7 separate regions of the Homo sapiens genome follow, and all the other regions are linked to region 1. Evidence: promoter capture Hi-C in 16 types of primary human blood cells and fetal thymus (Javierre and others, 2016). All regions are on one chromosome and are shown on one strand. Each heading gives the region's core, a stretch centred on a gene start or on the middle of the fragment in contact. The rest is flanking DNA. Distances are from core to core; before and after follow the strand shown.

What was found. Contacts are between HindIII fragments. The CHiCAGO score rates a contact against its expected background, and 5 or more counts as called.
Region 2: a contact is called between a fragment that was not itself captured here and the fragment with the promoter of RNF122 in region 1, in 1 of 17 cell types (M0 macrophages). The highest score is 7.6, in M0 macrophages.
Region 3: the fragment with the promoter of PLEKHA2 here is called in contact with the fragment with the promoter of RNF122 in region 1 in 1 of 17 cell types (M0 macrophages); the score reaches 6.2 in M0 macrophages.
Region 4: a fragment that was not itself captured here is called in contact with the fragment with the promoter of RNF122 in region 1 in 1 of 17 cell types (M2 macrophages); the score reaches 5.1 in M2 macrophages.
Region 5: a fragment that was not itself captured here is called in contact with the fragment with the promoter of RNF122 in region 1 in 1 of 17 cell types (M0 macrophages); the score reaches 10.7 in M0 macrophages.
Region 6: a contact is called between a fragment that was not itself captured here and the fragment with the promoter of RNF122 in region 1, in 1 of 17 cell types (M0 macrophages). The highest score is 7.2, in M0 macrophages.
Region 7: a contact is called between a fragment that was not itself captured here and the fragment with the promoter of RNF122 in region 1, in 1 of 17 cell types (M1 macrophages). The highest score is 5.2, in M1 macrophages.

What each region holds. Positions count from the first base shown.
Region 1 is chr8:33,565,647-33,568,445 of GRCh38, forward strand. It overlaps RNF122 (ring finger protein 122), which reads right to left and starts at 1,482. Exons shown (of 6, transcript NM_024787.3): 1 at 1,053-1,482. The coding sequence starts at 1,077. RefSeq lists silencers at 857-906, 1,047-1,096, 1,127-1,196, 1,247-1,366. The HindIII fragment of the contact is 8,620 bases long and covers 1-2,444 here.
Region 2 is chr8:38,981,049-38,983,748 of GRCh38, forward strand. HTRA4 (HtrA serine peptidase 4) reads left to right here. Exons shown (of 9, transcript NM_153692.4): 6 at 605-719; 7 at 1,450-1,507; 8 at 1,905-2,000. Among named protein-coding and RNA genes, the nearest start is that of HTRA4, 8.2 kb to the left of the region's middle. The HindIII fragment of the contact is 9,484 bases long and covers 1-2,700 here.
Region 3 is chr8:38,899,969-38,902,668 of GRCh38, forward strand. It overlaps PLEKHA2 (pleckstrin homology domain containing A2), which reads left to right and starts at 1,378. Exons shown (of 12, transcript NM_021623.2): 1 at 1,378-1,477. It overlaps LOC124901937 (a long non-coding RNA gene), which reads right to left and starts at 1,477. Exons shown (of 2, transcript XR_007060893.1): 1 at 1,245-1,477; 2 at 1-728. RefSeq lists an enhancer at 40-289 and silencers at 890-1,299, 1,380-2,049. The HindIII fragment of the contact is 6,068 bases long and covers 1-2,700 here.
Region 4 is chr8:38,954,603-38,957,398 of GRCh38, forward strand. It overlaps PLEKHA2 (pleckstrin homology domain containing A2), which reads left to right. Exons shown (of 12, transcript NM_021623.2): 10 at 2,721-2,784. Among named protein-coding and RNA genes, the nearest start is that of HTRA4, 18 kb to the right of the region's middle. The HindIII fragment of the contact is 3,095 bases long and covers 1-2,796 here.
Region 5 is chr8:27,362,534-27,365,351 of GRCh38, forward strand. All of the region lies in intron 1 of PTK2B (protein tyrosine kinase 2 beta), which reads left to right. Among named protein-coding and RNA genes, the nearest start is that of PTK2B, 38 kb to the left of the region's middle. RefSeq lists enhancers at 1-124, 1,751-1,930. The HindIII fragment of the contact is 1,262 bases long and covers 684-1,945 here.
Region 6 is chr8:39,004,208-39,006,907 of GRCh38, forward strand. All of the region lies in intron 1 of ADAM9 (ADAM metallopeptidase domain 9), which reads left to right. Among named protein-coding and RNA genes, the nearest start is that of ADAM9, 8.6 kb to the left of the region's middle. RefSeq lists an enhancer at 11-80. The HindIII fragment of the contact is 432 bases long and covers 1,167-1,598 here.
Region 7 is chr8:26,574,818-26,577,517 of GRCh38, forward strand. All of the region lies in intron 1 of DPYSL2 (dihydropyrimidinase like 2), which reads left to right. Among named protein-coding and RNA genes, the nearest start is that of DPYSL2, 62 kb to the left of the region's middle. RefSeq lists enhancers at 1,300-1,469, 1,568-2,265, 2,266-2,700 and silencers at 2,070-2,269, 2,310-2,700. The HindIII fragment of the contact is 357 bases long and covers 1,152-1,508 here.

The DNA.
Region 1 (2,799 bases), core at 232-2,731:
GGTGAAATGAACTAACTTAGAAGCATCACCCAGGCCTGGGGAGAAATGGGGCGAGGGGTTGTCGCGTCTGGAGGTGTGGCCTTCACTTGGGCTCAGGAGCAGACACCCTAATCTGGCCTTGTGGCCAGAAACACGGCTCCCGCCAGGCCAGCCTCGCACCCCAGGGACAGCCGGGCGCGGAGCTCTCTGCGAGGGTTTATCAACTCAGGAAAACGGCTTTTTTTTAGATGGAGTTTCGCTCTTGTTGCCCAGGCTGGAGTGTAATGGCACGATCTAGGCTCACTGCAATCTCCGCCTCCTGGGTTCAAGCGATTCTCCTGCCTCAGCCTCCCAAGTAGCTGGGCTTACAGGCATGCGCCACCACTCCCGGCTAATTTTGTATTTTTAGTAGAGACGGAGTTTCTCCATGTTGGTTAGGCTGGTCTCGAACTCCCGACTTCAGGTGATCCGCCCGCCTCGGCCTCCCAAAGTGCTGGGATTACAGGCGTGAGCCACCGCGCCTGGCCGAAAGCGACTCTTTAATCCAGTCTTCCGCAAGCACCCAAGCCACGCCAGCAGCCCGTGGGAAACCAACAAAGCCAGAGGAAGCTACCCCCGCGCCCAGTCCCGCACGCTGCACGGTATACATATTTACAATAGCCTGCAAAGTTTCAGGCCGGGAACTTGAGCTCCCTCTAGGAGATCCCAGCCCGAGTGCGGATTTAATTCTCCTCCAACAACCACAACAAAGAACAGAGTTTGAGCGCACAAAGGCAGGGGAAGGGGGTAGAAGAGCCGGGCCGCCACACAAAGGCCGGGAACCCCTCGGCTCCCACGCCCCCGGCCCGCCGCCAGTCCGGAGGCCCCTTCCAGGCTCTGGAGTGAAACCTGGATAGTTTCAAATTCCGCGCTGTGCAGAGCAGAGTGGGGCGCCAAGACGCCTTCTCGACTGTCCCATTTCAGGAGAAACTTGGTTCCCGAGGGAGGACCAGCGCGCTGCTGTCCGACCTCGCACCCCGCGCCGCGGCTCCCACCAGCCCCACGTAGGCTCGGCCCTCGCCCCGGGGACTCACCGTTACACCACTGGAATGGGTGCATCAATGAAGTCGCGGTTGGCTTCCTCGGGCGAACGGACGCAGGCGGGGTGCCAGGAGGGCGGGGTGGGAGCACTAGCGGCGTGAGGGGCCGCAGGCGGGGTCGGGGCAGCGCGCTGCAGCCGCCCTGCTGGAGAAGCCGAACTCCCTCCGGAGTGGGGGGCTTTGACGAGGCTGGTGTTCAGCCCAACAAAGAGGGACGAGGAGGAAACAAACAAAGTCCCGCGGAGCACAGCCGCACGGAGCGCACGCGCCAAGGGCCCCGGGCTGGGGGAATGTGGGGCGCCGCGGGGCGGGGGTGCCCGGGCTGCAGAAGCCCTCGGCCGGGGGAGGAGGGAAAAACCTTTGCCGGAGGCTCGGATCGGGTTCAGCGGCGCAGAGGTGAGCTGGCTGGGGTTCCGAAACTGACACCCGGCGGTGCACACCCCCTCCCTTTTACTTCCCCCACCAGTCCCCAGGAAAACTCCGCCCCTTGTTCGTCACCCTCCCTCCGACCAATCGGAGCCTTTCTCCTGCCCCCGGCTATTATTTGCAGGCCCAGCCTCCCTTCCCTGGAAGCCGGGAGGATCTTCGCACGGTGGGCGCCTCCCACTTAGTCTTCCCAGGCCTGGGGAAACTTCGGTCTGCAGAGAATGGAGCGGCGACGAGCGATGCCCCGGAGTGGGGGCCTGCCTTTTGCCCAGGGACACCAAGGCAAAGGAACAATTACTGCCACATTGTTTTCCGCCTACAGATCTGTTATTTATTTACTTATGTATTTGGAGGCAGAGTCTGCCTCTATCGCCAAGGCTGGAGTGCAGCGGCGCGATCTCAGCTCACTGCAACCTCTGCCTCTCGGGTTCAGGTGATTCTCCTGCCTCAGCCTCCTGAGTAGCTGGGATTACAGGCGCTTACCACCATGCCCAGATAATTTTTGTATTTTTAATAGCGACGGGGTTTCGCCATGTTGGACAGGCTGTTCTCGAACTCCTGGCCTCAAGTGATCCTCCTGCTTCAGCCTTCCAAAGTGCTGGGATTATAGGCGTGAGCCACCGCTCCCGGCCCTCTTTTTCTTTTTTGAGTTAGAGTCTTGCTCTGTCACTCAGCTGGAGTGCAGCGGTGCAATAATAGCTTACTGCAGCCTCCAACTTCTGGGCCCAAGCAGTCCTGCCACCTTAGCCTCCCAAGAAACTGGGACCACAGGTGCCTGCCACCAAGCCCAGCTACTTTTTAATTGTTTTGTATAGATGAGTGGCCTCACTATGTTGCTCAGGCTGGTCTCGAACTCCTGGACTCAAGTGATCCTCCCGCCTGAGCCTCCCAGATTGCTGGGATTACAGGCATGAGCCATGGCACCCAGGACATTTCATTTCTTAATTGGATAATTGCAAAAGCTTCCTAACTGGCCATTCTGATTCTAGTCTATAGCTCAGACTTCAGAGCCTACAAGAATCACTCCTATGTTTGAGATGTAACATGCAGATTCCCAGGCCTTGAACCCAGAGATTCTGATTCAATAAAGGGTGGACCCAGAAATTTTCATTTTAATGTGCCTTGTCTTCCCCACCCCTCAAATTCTCATGCGGCTATTGAAAGAAACAGTGCTCTGATTTCACTCTCAAGTCCATCCCTTCTGGTCACAATTATCTCTGTAAAATGTAAATCTGAACATTTCTTTGCTTGATAACGTTTGTTGGTCTCCAGTGTTTACTGAATAAAGTTCTGTAAACTAGAGTGTGGCATTCAA
Region 2 (2,700 bases), core at 55-2,554, 5.4 Mb after region 1:
AAAAATGAGCTTAAGTTTTTTTTTTTTTTTTTTTTTTTTTTTTTTTTTTGAGACGGAGTCTCGCTAGGTCGCCCAGGCCGGAGTGCAGTGGCGCGATCTCGGCTCACTGCAAGCTCCGCCTCCCGGGTTCACGCCATTCTCCTGCCTCAGCCTCCCGAGTAGCTGGGACTACAGGCACCCGCCACCAGGCCCGGCTAATTTTTTATATTTTTAGTAGAGATGGGGTTTCACCATGTTAGCCAGGATGGTCTCGATCTCCTGACCTCGTGATCCGCCCGCCTCGGCCTCCCAAAGTGCTGGGATTACAGGCGTGAGCCACTCTGCCCAGCCATGAGCTCAAGATTTTAAAAAGTCCTCAGCATCCTTGATCCTTTGGCCATGAAAAGAAGGTAACTTCTGCGCATGTGCAGTTACCCTTTGCTGTCCCATCACACTATTTGCCCTATAAAGGAACATCCGTTGCTCTCTTTTGAAGTACAAAGTTCCTCTCGGCCCTGTTTTCTGACCCTAAGTAACTAGCTTCACTCCTTCTTCTGCTTGTTCTGGTCTTGCACTCATCAGTTTGCAAAACTTCATGACTGAATGATGTCCCCTCCCTTGCCAGGATGGTGATGTGATTGGCGTCAATTCATTGAGGGTGACTGATGGAATCTCCTTTGCAATTCCTTCAGATCGAGTTAGGCAGTTCTTGGCAGAATACCATGAGCACCAGATGAAAGGTAAAGCAAGTTGGGATTTTTTTTTTTTTGGTTTCGTCTTGTGCTTTTCAGGAACACTCAATCTTTTGTGGTGACAGCAATTTTTTTGTTTTTGTTTTTGAGACAGAATTTTGCTCGTCATCCAGGTTGGAGTGCAGTGGCGTGATCTTGGTTTACTGCAACCTCTGCCTCCTGGGTTCAAGCGATTCTCCTGCCTCAGCCTTCCGAGTAGCTGGGACTACAGGCACCCACTGCCACGCCCAGCTCATTTTCGTATTTTCAGTAGAGACGGGGTTTCACTATGTTGGCCAGGCTGGTCTTGAACTCCTGACCTCCAGTGATCCGCTTGCCTCGGCCTCCCAAAGTGCTGGGATTACAGGCATGAACCACCATGCCTGGCCCGGAGACAGCCATTTGAATCCTGTAGACTACTGGGTCACTCATTTGTACTCAGCTCCTATAATGGTGATTTGAGCAGCAATATTGGGGGACTAGGCACAAACCAAGCATGAGTTGTACCCAGAAGTATTTGGATTGAGCTAATGTGGAAATGAAACCCAGGGGCTGGAGGTGGGAGGTGGGTGGGAGGAGTGTAAGTGCTAATGACAAAGGTTCTCTGAAGCCTGTGTTTCATCCAGGTAACCTGAAAGGACAGCTGTGATGGCAAAGAGATCCTGGGACATGGGTGTCTTTTAAGCTGCGCTAACAGGAAAGAGGTTTTGTTGTAACACATCATAACTTTCCTTTCCAGGAAAGGCGTTTTCAAATAAGAAATATCTGGGTCTGCAAATGCTGTCCCTCACTGTGCCGTAAGCATGTGTTTGAATATGTCTGGGTTGTTTTTCAGAGGCAAAAACCATAGCTGCACAGTCTTAACAGAAAAGCTGAGCCACTTGGACCACAGCCAGGTACTCTTGTGACCATAGGCCCTATCTGTCTCAGGGTATGTATCTGCCTCTGCCTGCATCAGCACTAACTATACATAGTTTATTTCATTGTGGCTGTATTTTATAATGTCCAGTGGTTCTAGGCTTTGGGATAGAGGCTCAGCCCGAACTGAGAGGAGAATGACTGTGATTAGCTTGATGGAATCTTCCTCGGCCCTTGTGAACCTTGAGCAGAACAGAGTACCTACTAAGAATTTCAGGCTTTTACCAGGGCTCAGGAGACTAATTCATTGTTTCCTAATCTTCTCACTTCTCTTAGCCTTAGTGAAGAATTGAAAATGCATTATCCAGATTTCCCTGATGTGAGTTCTGGGGTTTATGTATGTAAAGTGGTTGAAGGAACAGCTGCTCAAAGGTAAGAGAAGTGAAGGCCTTTGTCATCTACCTTTGCTTTTTCTAAATGTGTGCCATGGTAAAATGCATGGGGGATCCAGACTTGATCTGTCCAATACAGTGGCCACTACTTACATGTAGTATGTACTGAGCACATGAAATGTGGCCAGTGTGACTGAGGAACTGAATTTTGAATTAAAGTAAGTTTAATTTAAATTAAAAAACCCAGGCCAGGTGCAGTGGCTCATGCCTGTAATCCCAGCACTTTGGAAGGCCAGGGTGGGTGGATCACCTGAGGTCAGGAGTTTGAGACCAGCATGGCCAACATACTGAAACCCCGTCTCTACTAAAAATACAAAAATTAGTGGGTGCGCCTGTAATTGCAGTTACTTGGGAGGCTGAGGCAGGAGAATCGCTTGAACATGGGAGGCAGAGGTTGCAGTGAGCTGAGATCACGCCACTGTACTCCAGTCTGGGCGACAGAGCAAGACTCCACCTCAAAAAAAAAAATATTATCATTATATAGTAGTATATTGGGGGGGTGTGTTATTTCAAGTGGATTTCAAAGACATAGGAAACAGAGTGTAAAATAACTATTTTAAAAATATCACGTTAAATGATAATATTTGGATATATTGTATTAAATAAGATATATTATTAAATTAAATTCATCTATTTAAAAATTTTTAAAAATGTGGCTACAAGAAAATTTAAAATTATGT
Region 3 (2,700 bases), core at 128-2,627, 5.3 Mb after region 1:
GGTCGGTCGTGGAGACATAAGAGGCCGCCTTTCCTCTGTTAACACCGGGAATGTGCCCCAGCCTCTCCCTCCTTCCTGCAAATCCAGTCCTTGTCCTGGAGAACCTCAGCGTCTTCTTATGCCTGCCTCTTTCAAAGCCTCGTAGGATTTACACCTGATTAACAACGTTTGCATTAGGATCGCCAGACACCGGCGCACGGCCCCGCAGGCCCGCGCGAATCTTCTACATTTTCATGTTTCGGATGTTGTCCACCTGACTTGATGCATATTCAAATGTCTCTCTCCCGACGTGGGAGGCCGGAGTCAGAACCTGACAGACCTGCCGTTTACTAACTGGGTACCCAGGGCAAATTACTTCACAAGTCTGAGTCTCGGTTTCCTCACCGTGAACCGGACTGGTACCCATAGGTTGCGGCGTGGATCAAATGAGATAGCGCAGGGGCGGGACCCGCGCACAGCAGCTCTCTTAGTTCCTCTTGGCGAGGTTTACGTAGTAACACATGCTTGTCTGTTTCCCATTTTTTCCCAGAGCACCCTCATGCTCTGGGGGCAGGAAGGGAGTCTTCGCATCACACCGAAAAAGTCCCAACGGGCACGGTGTAGGCGCCTGTGGTCCCAGCTACTCGGGAGGCTGGGGCAGAAGGATCGCTGGACCCAGGAGGTCGAGGCTGCAGTGAGCTATGACTGCGCCACCGCACTCCAGCCTGGGCGACAGAGCCAGACCCTGTCTTGATTAAAAAATAAAATAAAATAAAGAAATTAAAGTCCTTATAACCCTGGTTAGAGCGTTCCCGCCCACTGGTCTCTTAGGGCACATTTAGGACAACCTGAAGAAGCCACTCTTCTTGGGACCCTAACCCTTACCCCAACTCCTCGGTCCCCAAAGGCTAAGGGCTCGGGATCCGAAGGAGGCCCAGCTGAGGTCGCTGGGTGGGGCTCTGGGAGGAGGAAATGGGGTTCTTGAGGGAGCTCGCGCTCCAGCTCGCCTCCTCCTGCGAGGACGCCCCCTGCCCGGACACCTGCTGCCCGAGCGAGCGTCGGGGCCGGGCCTCCCCGCGGGGCAGTCTCGGCGCGCAGGTCCCACCTGCCAGGCGCGGAACGCGGGCGGCCTCGGGCGCAGCCTCCGGGCGCCCCGCCCCCGCCTCCCCCGCGCGGCCCCGGCGCCCGGCCGCACCCCCTCCCAGCCCGCGGCGCCCCGGCACCCCTCTCCCTCCCCGGCGGGCTCCGCGGAGCATTGTACTCACATCCGGGGCTGGGTTTTGCTTTAATGCGAAACGTAATTAACCCGGAAAAAAGAGCCGAGGGACGGGAGAGAAGGAGGGGGCACTGGGGGAGACCAGAGCGAGGGGAGCGAGAGGCGCGGAGAGTTTGGCAGGCAGACCCAGAAATCCCTGGAGCGCGGCGGACCCGGCGGCCGGAGGGGCGACCCCGCCCGATGTAACGCGCCCCGCCCGAGCCCCGGCCCCTGCACGGGGGGGTAAGTTGGGCGCCCTCGCGGGCTCGGGAGTGGAGAGGCGCAGAGGGGCGCGCGGGGGCTGGCGGGGCTGGGGGTGCAGGGGGCGCCCCGGCGGAGGCCTGGCGGCCTAGGGGCGCGAGGGGCGCGCGCGCAGGGCTGAATACGCCGGTCCTAGTGGCTGACAGGCGAGGGGAGGTGGCCGCAGACCCTGGAGGCCTCCTCCAACCCTCTGGGAGAGCCCCGAGGGCAGCCCCTCCTCCAAGTGCCCCGGGTGGCCAAGGTCGCCGCCGCCAGGGGTCGGGCTGCGGGGGGTGGGGCCGCGGAGAGGGTGGGGGCGGGAGTTCTGCTGAGCTGCATTTTCTCACGTTTGCAGCAGCGAAACTTCTCTGCGGGTTCTGGCGCTGGGGCACCGACCCCGCAACGACTGCCCGGGCTGCGGGAGGGGAGGAGAGCAGAGAACGTCCCCAGGCAAGTCCCTTGGGTACGGATTGGGCCATGGAGACTCCTCTTTCACTCCCCCGACTACCTTATTAAATGACAGGCCTAGAAGGCTCCCCTAGGGACTCCTGTCCTTTCCTCTGGGTGCAGCCTGGACTTCGGGCTTCTGGAACTCCAGACAGTGAAAAGGACTGCCCTAAAATGCAGGTTCGGTGCCAGGTTGGGTGAGCCCTCGAGGGGAGCTGTCGTTCTCTCTCTCACCAACTTCTTCCTCACCTTACACGCTTCCCTTTTCTCCTCCAGTCCTAAAGACGATTTCACCAAAATTTTTTTAAAAAGAAAGAGAAAAGAAGGGTGTGGGGGGGGGTGGTGGGAAGCTAGGCCGTTTAGAAGGGAAAAGTGTCCCTGCACGCCCAGAGAGGGGCGCAGGGCCCGCTGCGGCCGGAGCACCCTCACATCTCCTCCCCGGGGCCAGCCCTGCCCCCAGGCCCTAGCCTTAGGGTTTGGCTTCCTTCCTTCTTGGTGAACGCAGGTTCAGGATGTATCTTCCCCTTCTCATTCCTTCTTCCTGCCCGCCCCCTTTCTTTCTTTAGGGCTCCAAGTGGGGTTTTCAGAGGACAGTAAACGGCAGAGAAGAGGGAGGGGAGAGCACCCCACCAGAAAGCCAGCTGTGGCTCTGGGGGCTCTGAAGGCTGAGCTGTAGATGCACTTGGGGCTGAAGTCCCAAGATTGCACTAATGGTGTTCTTAATCTATCTGACCAAGTCCCATTTTCCCTTCTTTTGTCATTTTTTTTCTTTGGTTGCG
Region 4 (2,796 bases), core at 162-2,661, 5.4 Mb after region 1:
GCTCTGCAGCTTCCATGCCTGTTAGACTGCTTGGCCTCCCTGGAACCCAGTCCAGGGTTTTAGGATATCTTGATAATCAATTAATATTTGTTGAAAGGCACCATGTAGCCTGGTGCCGTTTTAAAAAAATATATATCTTTTTAGGCCGGGCGTGGTGGCTCACACCTGTAATCCAATCCCAGCACTTTGGGAGGCCGAGGCGGGCGGATCACCTGAGGCCAGGAGTTCCAGACCATCCTGGCCAACATAGCGAAACCCCTTCTTTACTAAAAATACAAAAAATTAGCCGGGCATGGTGGTGGGTGCCTGTAATCCCCGCTACTTGGGAGGCTGAGGCAGGAGAATCGCTTGAACCCGGGAGGCGGAGGTTGCAGTGAGCCAAGATCGTGCCACTGCACTCCAGCCTGGGCAACAAGAGTGAAACTCTGTCTCAAATAAATAAATAAATAAATTTTTACATTTTTTAAAATTTCTATCGTTTTGGGGGAACAGGTGGTGTTTGGTTGCATGGAAAAGTTCTTCAGTGGTGATTTCTGAGATTGTGGTGCACCCATCTGCAGCAGTGTCCACGGTGCCCAAATGCATAGTCTTTTATCCCTCACCCCCCTCCTGCCCTTCCCACCCTGAGAAGTAGATGTGAAAGGAGTGGGGATTTCCCACCTGCTTTTCTTTCACCTCCTCAATAGTTGTTTATGTGACTTTACTGGCTATGCATGAGTAGAATTTGAAAGGCTAAGACATTTTAGCCAGAAAGAGGCATTTTTTATTCAGAAACTCAGAAAGTAATCATAGTTGGTGAAATTTGCTTCAAGTGACTATTCTGTGACATACATTATGCCGGATGCCTTCTGTACCTTATAACTAACTGGTCTTTGTAGTGACCAGCCTGATCAAGGGGGTCCTCTTATTTGTCTCTGTTTTATACCTGGGGTCACAAAGGCTCCCCAAGTTTTTACAACATTCTCAAACATCTCTTCCCTACATGTAGTCAGGATTCACCCCAGGTCTATCTGGCCCCTATCCTGTTGTTCTTGCTCATGGATCTCTGGTCTCATGCACTCCTTTGCCCAGGTACCTGTGGCACTGGCCGAGGTAGTGCCATTTTCTTGCAGGCTTTCTCATTCATAAAGCCAACCCCACCTGTGATCAGTCCTTTCCAACTCTTGGCATATAACACACAATCTAACATCTGATGGTACAGTTTTGCTTCCTTATGTTCTTTTTTTGTTGTTGTTGAGATAGAGTCTTGCTCTGTCCCCAGATTGGAGTGCAATCTCAGTTCACTGCAGCCTCTGCCTCCCAGGCTCAGGTGATCCTCCCGCCTCAGCCTCCCGAGTAGCTGGGACTATAGATGTGTGCCACCACACCTGACTCAGTTTTGTATTTTTTTTTATAGAGAACAAGGTTCACCATGTTGTCCAGGCTGGCCTAGAACTCAAGTGATTTGCCTGCCTTGGCCTCCCAAAGTGCTGGGATTACAGGCGTAAGCCACTGCGCCTGGCCCTTATGTTCTTTCACTGGGTAGGAATTAGATCTTTTACTCCTTATGTATTCCCCGCAGTGGCTGGGGATATACGCGGCAGGCATTTAACACTGGGAAATAACTTGGGCTGCTTTGAGGTTTGTCACTGAGCATCATCTACTCCCCGCCCTCTTCCTTGCAGAAGTCAGGATTTCTTTTCCAAAACCCACACCCAGCAGTGTCCCCTAAAGGAGTGCCCTGAGGTCATCTCCTCTCCCCTTGCTTTCCTCCTCTTTAGCTCTTTGTCTCCTGGGCCCCGCACAGTGAGGCAAGGAGCAGGAGCTGAGTGAGGTTGATGGGGCTGCTGTGAGGGTGGAGGAGACGGTTTAGGGAGCGGAGAGTTGGCTCCCTTAGGAGAGGCCAATGGCAGTGGAGTAATTAAAAGCATAGGCTCACTGGGTTCAGTGGCTCATACCTGTAATCCCAGGACTTTGGGAAGCTGAGGCAGGCAGATTGCTTGAGCTCAGGAGTTCAAGACCAGCCTGAGCAACATGGAAACACCCTGTCTCTATGACAAATATAAAAATTAGCCAGGAGTGGTGGCATGTGCCTGTAGCCCCAGTGAGCCATGATTGTACCACTGTACCCCAGCCTGGGCAACAGAGCGAGACCCTGTCTCAAAAAAATAAATAAATAAAGCAGAGACTCTGGAGTCAGACCTAGGTTCCAAATCTCCAGCAACTTGGAGGAGTCATTTAAGCTCTGACCCTGAGTGTGGGTCTGGGTTTCCTCATCTGTAAAATGGGGGAAGTCTTAAGTGCCCCCCGGGGCTGTTGTGAAGATTAGATGAAATAATCTACAAAAAAGCACCCGAAACGGTGCTTCCCACAAAGCACTTCATACACCTTAGAGGGAAGGAGGGAGGCAGGAAGGAAGGAAACTGTAGGAGATGGTGGTGGTGGGGTTGGATATTAGGCAGGAGGTTTTGGAGGGAAAGGAGCTTGTTAGAACTGCTGGTGGGAGAGGGGCCTGGGGAGGGTCCATCTGGATGGCAAAGCCTCCTGAGACCCTCTAGGAAATGAAGCTAGAGGAAACCCCTGGAGTGTTTTTCAAGGCAGGAGCTGAAGGAAGAATGGCTTGGAACCACCCCCCACCCATCTTCCTTTTTTATGGTAGAGGGCACTGGGGTCTTAGGACATATCGAGTCCTCTCTGAGTATGTCAGCACGCCATAACATTCTTTCTCTTTCTCTGTCTAGTGATCTCTTAATGAGGGACAACCTGTTTGAAATAATAACAAGCTCCAGGACCTTCTACGTACAGGTAAAATGCTCC
Region 5 (2,818 bases), core at 65-2,564, 6.2 Mb before region 1:
CTGACACTACTCATCCTCCTTCCCAACACCTGTGGGCCTTTAGCAAAGCAACACCCCACCCCCACCTTCACCCTGACCCCAGCAGTGTTTTCTTTCCCCCCACCAAGACTTCCTTGGGGCCCTCTGGCCTTGCCAAACCCCCTTTGTAGCAGCCTCCCCTTCCAGCAGTGACAGGAGGGACCCAGCCTCGGGAGCCTGTCTCTGAGAGACAGATGCAGGCAAAGAGCCGTTACCATGCAAAATCTAGAACTGTTCCCACGTGAAATCTAGAACTTCTCCCACACGAAATCTAGAACTGCTCCCACACGAAATCTAGAACTGCTCCCATGCGAAATCTAGAACCACTCCCATGCGAAATCTTGAACCGCTGGGTGGAAATGAGGTTCAGTAGGTGCGGCAGTGTCACCTCTCTGGAGCATCTTCCCAAGTCTTTATGACAAACAGGGATACCCTCATGGCCAGAGTCAGCTGGGAATTTTTGTGGAAGCAGCTCCTTGGATAGCATCACTCCTGTTCTCGTCATGGTGGAAAATGACTAAAAACTCAGGATATCCCACTGGCCCTGGGCAAATTCCCTCATTGGAGTAGGGACTAGGACAAGGGCCAGCCCATCCTGTCAGGCCAGAGCACTTCTGTGGTCTTCAGCCCAGTTCTGAGGGCCCCTCTTGAACCAGCTTTTGGGAAGCTTTGAGGGAGAGAGGGGAGCCAGAGAGGACGTCTCGTGAGAAGTGTTTGGAGGAACTGAGGCAGGTCCAGGGAAGGCCTGGGAGAGCAGAGGAGCTGTTTTCCACTAGTGAAAGGTCAGGAGGTGGAAGTGAGATGGGTTTTGTTCTGTGCATCTCCATGAGCAGGCCCAGGAAGTTACAGAAAAGTAGATTTGGGATGAATATAAAGGAAGGTTTTTTAATAATTAGAGCTCCGAGCAATGGGACAGGTTGCAGAAATGTTGAGAGAGTGAGTTTCTCATCACTAGAAGAATTCAAGCAGGAAGTGGGCAAGAGGGAGTGCCCGCATGGTCTGGGATGCAGGGAATGGACTCTGACTGCTCTTGCTGCTCTGAGCCTCTTGATTCTGATTTGGGTCTACCCCTGCCCTTCTTGCAAGTCCTCCTTTTTCTCATCATGGACCTCCTCCCCGGAGCCAGGCAGAGGCTCAGGGGCTCTCCCATGTCCTGTCTGAGTAGGCTGCATGATGACTATTGATTGGCTGAAGCCCCAGAAATACCTGCCATGTGCTGGGCTGTGACAGTCACTTGGCGTTCCTGGGACATGTTCATGTGAATTCTCACCGGTGGCTTCACCCACCCCCAGTCCTGTGGGCCACGATTACTCTCCCACGTGCTGGAGATGAGGAAGTGAGGAAATACCCAGGGCGCTGCAGGGCTAAGATTAGACTAGGGCCCGGCCGCCTGTCTTGACACATGCGCACAAGCAGCTCCCCCAAGTTAAGAGCCTGTGTATCAGCTGAGTCCCAGGGCCTGGGGCTCTCCACACACTCTACATACAAACACCTGGCAAGGAGTCCTCACAACAGCGCTGAAACAGCTGCATCAGCGTCCCGTTTTACAGAGAAAGAAGCCAGGGTTCAGGATAGTTGGAAATAAGTCTGTGCATGACTAGCAAGGGATAGAGCTGTGGCTTGTGCTCAGCTTTGCCCTCTGTGCCACTGACTGCCACCAGAGGCTGTAAGCTGCCTTCCATGCGATGCACCTCAGGCAGCTCAGAGAATGCACCTCAGGGGCTTCAGCCAGGGCAGTTCGTTTCCATACTCCTGGGTGAATGATGGCCTCCTCCAAGAATTCCAGGTCCTATGCTAAATACAACTGGGAAAGAAGTGCGTAACGCATTATTTCCAGCTTACCAGAAACCTGGAGCCCCAAAGGGTAAACATAGCACATTTACAATAAGCCAGATGTGCTGAAAAGGGAACAGCAGCCGTGAAGAAAAGCTTCCTGACGGAGGTGAAACTTGAGGTGGGCTTTACCAAGAGGAGTCTTAGATAGGCAGAGATATGGAGGTGTGAGGCGGGGAGACATTCGCTCAGTACTGCAGGGACTGAACAGAATTTTGCCATGAATTCTTGAGCTACAGTTAAGCAAGCATTATTGACTTTCCCACTTTGTCTACCTGCATATGAGTGATCCCAGAACCTTCCAGCCCCACCTTCTCATCCTGACTTGATGAGTGGCCTCACTGACGTCCAATTGACGGGAGAAGATTGTAGGCAATATTCGCTTTTCTTCTAACTGGCTGTCAATTCCTGTGGATTCCACCTTGGGACATCTTCCTTCATCTACTCCTTTTTCCTCATTATCGCCCCCATCTTGAGTAAGACACTACTTCTTGCCAAAATCAATGCATTTGTCACTCGATTGCTGCCCCAGGGTTTCTTCCTGCAAATCTGTCCTATGCATACCTGTGGGTAGTCACCTCTGTAAACCTTGACACTTCTGATGACATCTTCAGCAAGCCTCAGGCTTTCCTGCAGTTTTGCTCATATACATTCTAAGTTTTTCTGATAGCTTTCAACCCACGTCTTCTTGTTTGCAAACCTATCCAGCCTGGAAGGTCCAACTCATATCCTGCCTTTCCCATGAGATGAAATTAACTTTCTTCACCCATGCTGCTCCCCAGACATAATTTCATGTCCCCTTCGCTTGCGCTAACCACACTGTGCTGCGTGGTATTATTTGATGGCGATATCTGTCTCCCCAACTTGGCTGTAAGTCCCTGGATCACTACTTACTCCTTTTGTACTCTCTCTCGTCTGCCAACCTGGTGGGTACTCAAAGGTGTTTGTTGAATTGATTGTAGTCACA
Region 6 (2,700 bases), core at 133-2,632, 5.4 Mb after region 1:
ATATGTATTCTTTATTTTTTTTTTTTGGCAGGGTCTCCCTCTGTTGCTCAGGCTGGAGTGCAGTTGCATAATCATGGCTCACTGCAGCCTTGATCTCCCAGGCTCAGGTGATCCTTCCACTTTAGCCTCCTGAGTAGCTGGGACCACAGGCATGTGCCACCATGCCCCACTAATTTTTAAATTTTTTTGAAGAGACAGGGTCTTGCTCTGTTGCTCAGGCTGGTCTTGAGCTCTTGGGCTCAAGTGATCCTCCTGCCTTGGCCTCCCAAAGTGCTAGGATTACAGGGTTGAGCTACCATGCCTGGCCAGCATATGTAATCTTGTCTGTAATGATTTACTTAAAGAGAATTTTTTTTTAAAAAGTGAAAGCATGTTTATTAAGAAAGTAAAGGAATAAAAGAATGGCTACTCCACGAGCAGAACAGTGGCACGGGCTGCTCAGCTGAGTATACTGATAGTTGCTTCTTGGTTATATGCCAAACAAGGGGTGGATTATTCATGAGTTTTCTGGGAAAGGGGCAAGGATTTTTAGACCATATAAGGTAACTTCTGGGCATTGCCATGGCATTTGTAAACTGTCATGGTGCTGGTGGGAGTGTCTTTTAGCATGCTAATGTATTATAATTAGCATATAATGAGCAGTGAGGACGACCAGAGGTCACTTTCCTCGCAGTCTTGGTTTTGGTGGGTTTTAGCTGGCTTCTTTACCGCAAACTGTTTTATCAGCAAAGTCTCTGTGACTTGTATCTTGTACTGACCTCCTATCTCATTCTGTGACTAAGAATGCCTAACCTTCTGGGAATGCAGCCCAGTAGGTCTCAGCCTTATTTTATCCAGCCTCTATTCAAGTTGGAGTCAGTCTGGTCTGAGTGCTGCTGACATATTTTCCCTCATCCTTTTACATGGGAACCTTAATCCTAAAGATTGTAGAGGGACAAAGATCTATCTTCTGTGACTTCTTCAGGCTGAATAGGGGCAATCATGTTCCTGCCTAACTATAGGGTATCTTGTATCCGGGGTAGAGAGGAGCTCAGTCACACAACGTCATTATGCTGAGGGCCATTCACAACTCTGAGTTCTGTTGAGTTCACAACACAAAAGGTGATATCTAGAAGATTAGTAAGATTAATAATTAATAAGTGTTCAATTTAAGAAAACATTCAGTAAGCTTATCCTGCATTCCTACACAAAGATTACAATAGCAATATATTTCATGACAGTATAGCAAATAAGTAAAATTATTCCAAGTAAACTAAATAGAAAGCTGTTCCATGAACTGGGCAATTGTTGGAACCCAGCTGATATAGGGTCACTAACTGATTCCAATATATGCCCAGAATTAGAATACTGATCCAGATGTTAACATTAGCCATCCCTCTTGTTTATTCTGAGCTGCAGTTAGAGATCACTGATTGGTTCACTGAAATAAGCAGAGTCAGTCCAAATTGCAGGGAAAAACTCAGAAACAACTGATGAGACTAGAATTTAATGTCAGGTGTACTATAGTTCTTGAAACGTAATTTTTCCCTTTCCTGTCCTCCATTTTCATTAAAAACAAATCATGATAGGACTGATAGGATATGATGGGTAGCAAAATAAGCTTTAGTCTTATTATGCTTGGCCTGATTGTTTGAAATAATTGCAGTAAGAATAATTATTTGCCACATAGGCACTTTTTAATTGGCTTTGATGGAACTTTGTTCCATAAGGAATCTCACCTGAGATGTTTTTTAAAGCAGAGCTCAGCCATGGGTTTGCACAGTTAAATACAGGTATGAGTTGGGTAAATTCCTCTCCTCTTGAGGTCCCAAGATAACTTGACACACCTGGGACTGTAGATAGTGACAGTCTTTATTTACAACAGATCAGGAACCTCGTACAGGGACTGTGTAGACAAGGTATGTGGCCAGTTTTCTCAAGGGGCTTTTATCGGTTCTATAAATCAAGTTTGATTCCTTAAAGGAAAGCACAACATTCCAGTCAAAACTTGGTAAAATAACCAGTTTCTCCAGTTGTGTCCTGTGCAAAAGAAAACAGATTCTTACAGAAATATAAGGGATTGATGGGTAAAGAGTTTAAAAGCTGTTTATACATGCAGTACATTGGATATGATATAATTTATGGTTTCTTGTTTGCAGCTGTTTGTATCTTTTTAATCCCAAACCAGACAAAATTATAAACATTTTATATACAATGTTATCTTGGAAAAAGTTAGATGTAAATAATTCATCTTAATCTATATTTGAGAAATCTGAGGGGTATTAGGAAACTCATGAGTGAATGAACATATAGATTGGATCAAAGGAGGAGAGTATGAGAGTAGGGAGACCAGGTAAAAAGGTATCATAGTCATCTAGAGGTGAGGTTAGTAAGGGTTAAGCCATTGGTAATAATGCTGGAAGAAAAAGAGGTTGTGTTGGACTTATCGAGAGACTATGTATTGGACTCCCACATGGTGTGTCTTCCTAAGAGATTTGTGTTGGCAATTTTGATTATACTCAATTTCAATTCAAGTGATGACTTTAGAACCCAAGCCCTGCTTAAGACATCATGATTCCATGCGGATAGACTGAACAGAATTGGAAATGGGAGTTAGTCTGCATGACTTTCAGAGCTCTTAACTGTTAAGAAATTTTGCTTAAAATTTGTGTTTTTGTGATGGATTAATGGCTATAATTTGAAAGCGTGGCTACATTGTTG
Region 7 (2,700 bases), core at 80-2,579, 7.0 Mb before region 1:
ATTACAGCCTCAGCCTCCCAGCCTCAACTGATCTTTCTGCCTCAGCCCCAACCTTCCCCTGCCCCCAGTAGCTGGGACCACAGGTGCCCACCACCACACTCAGCTAATTTATTTTGTTTGTTTTTGTTTTTTTGAGATGGAGTTTCGCTCTTGTTGCCCAGGCTGAAGTGCAGTGGCGCTATCTTGGCTCACTGCAACCTCCGCCTCCCGGATTCAAGTGATTCTCCTGCCTCAGCCTCCCGAATGGCTGGGATTACCGGCCCCAGCCACCATGCCCGTCTGATTTTTGCATTTTTAGTGCAGACGGGGTTTCACCATGTTGGCCAGCCTAGTCTCTAATATTTGTATTTTTTGTAGAGACGGGGTTTCTCCATGTTGCTGAGGCTGGTCTCCAACTCTTGGGCTCAACTGATCTGCCTGCCTTGGCATCCCAAAGTGCGGGATTACAGGTGTGAGCCACTGTGCCCAGCCTCTCATTTATTTTTACAAGGATCTCTGAAGTAAAAGTGTGAGGCCTGTTTACCTGTGGTTTTTTGTTTTTTTTTTCACCTTCATCAGTGCAAAGCAGGTGGAAGATTCTCCTCGGCCCTTTTTTACTTTTCCTCATTGCGCTGAATGGTAAATATGGTAAGAAATGCAGGTTGCAGACAGTTCTCTTCCTCGGTCAATTTAAACCATTTGTTTGGTATCTTTTATGTGCCAAATACTCTCTTAGGCTCTAGTCAGAACAGACAAATCAGTTTATACCTTACATTTTTGGATATTTACGAGTGGAAACGTCAGTTATTATGGACTAAGAACCTCATAGCAATGGCTATACAATTGAAGCCAATGAGACAGACACAAGCTCTTGGAAGCTTTTATTACAAAACAAACGATTCTATGGTAAACTGGTAAATAACAAGATATATTTAAACCCATTACGCTCAAACAACAGGGACGGGGGTAGGGAATACAACAAGAATACAAACAATATAATTATAGGTTACTTTGTTTTAAATTAATTTGAGTCTCTTTATTTACTCCCTTGCCAAGTAGTTTTTTTGTGAGCTAATAGGACACTCCTCTCCACTGCCCTGTCCTCCGCAAAGCTGGGACTGACTGTTGGTTTTTCACAAGTAGAGAGAGGCCAAGTAGAAAGGCGTATTTTAAGCTTTCTCAGACTCGTGACTTTAACCATTACCGGTTGACAGCAATACTTGCCGACATCATCTCACCTTGCTTGCGGCATATCAGATTGCTGGAGGGGGAAGTGCTTCACTTTCTCTTTCAGATGCACAGCTAAATTGAACTTGGATGAATTAACCATCGGTGAAACTTTGTGCGTGCCCTACGGCTACTTTCTGGGACTTCAGATTTTTAGAGATATAGGAGTGAAAAGGAGAATTTTACACCTTCTCTGAGTCTGGAAGGACAGACATTCCCCTAAAGTGGCTAAGGTGGTGAAGGGCAGAAAGATTGGAAGTCAGGCCCACAGCAGCTCGAATTATTCCGTATTTATCTAGCTAAGCTTTGCTGAGCAGGTGTGAGCCAATTACATACTCTTTCTTCCCCCACCCCCCAGCCCATGATTACGTAGGGATTCTATGTATCCTTCGACCTCAAGCAGAGAAGCCCGAGCGCTACGAGGGCTGGTCCAGATGTTTTAGTTATTGTACCTGCCAGGGCAACCTCCCACGGGGGTTGGCCTCGGTAGATTCCTGAGGATCAACTGGATCAGCGTTTTTCTTTCCCACGGACCCTGAAGTTAGAGCATCCCAGCATGGCTTGGACAGGCAAAGCTAAGGGGTCCCAGGCCTGCTCAATTGCTAGGACCACGAAGGGGCCTTGAGTGCCGTTTGAAGTGACAAGGCTCTGCCTGGGCAGTCAGGACACTCTTGATTTTAACTCCGATTCAGTAGGTTTTCCCCAAGACTCAGTTTCCCTTTCCTGTGGGATATAAACTCTTCCTTTCTTGCTCCTCCACAGCTCATCTCCTCCTCTCCGCCCCACGGTGCGGTGTGGGTCCCATCCACTGGCACTGTAAACCCTCAGGACCCCGGGGCGCTGGGATCGCAGCAGCTGCCCCCGACAGCGCTGCAGGCACCAGCGAAATGCGCTGCGCCCCCACGCACCCCTCAGGGAGCCGAGGTGGGCGTGACTGTAAAGCGGGCGCACAGAGCGCAGATCGCGCCACATCGGCCTCGGCGGGCTGCGGCTGCTCCCCATTCCTCCGCCCTACTAAGTTCCTCGCGGCCGGAAGGCACAAAAGGATGTTTCAGGGCGGGGTTTCCCATACCCCGCAGCCTTCCCCGGATGCCTCCTTCCCGGCTCGGAGTTGGAAGGGTTTCCTCAGGGCTCTCATTTCCTGCAGCCCGGCGCCTCCACGCGGGCCAGATCCCGTCTCTGCAGCCTCCCCCCGGCCCGCGCCCATTCCCCGCCCCCAGGAGCCGGGCCCGGACGCTCCCGGGAAGCAGCCGCCCTCTCCGGGGCCGGGCGTGGCCGGGCCCTCCCCGCCGGGTTCCCGCCCGCCGCCGTTCCAGTCCTCAGCCGCGCCAGGGCGGGGGCCAGGCGAGTTCAGCGCCAGCAACGGCGGGGGAGGAGGGCCCGGGAGCCCTCCCGGGCTGCGCGGCGCCGGCCGGCGGTGCAGTCGCGCGCTCGCCGCCAGCGAAGCCATTGGCTCGGCGCAGTCACCCCACGCGGGGCTGCCGCGGCGGCCTC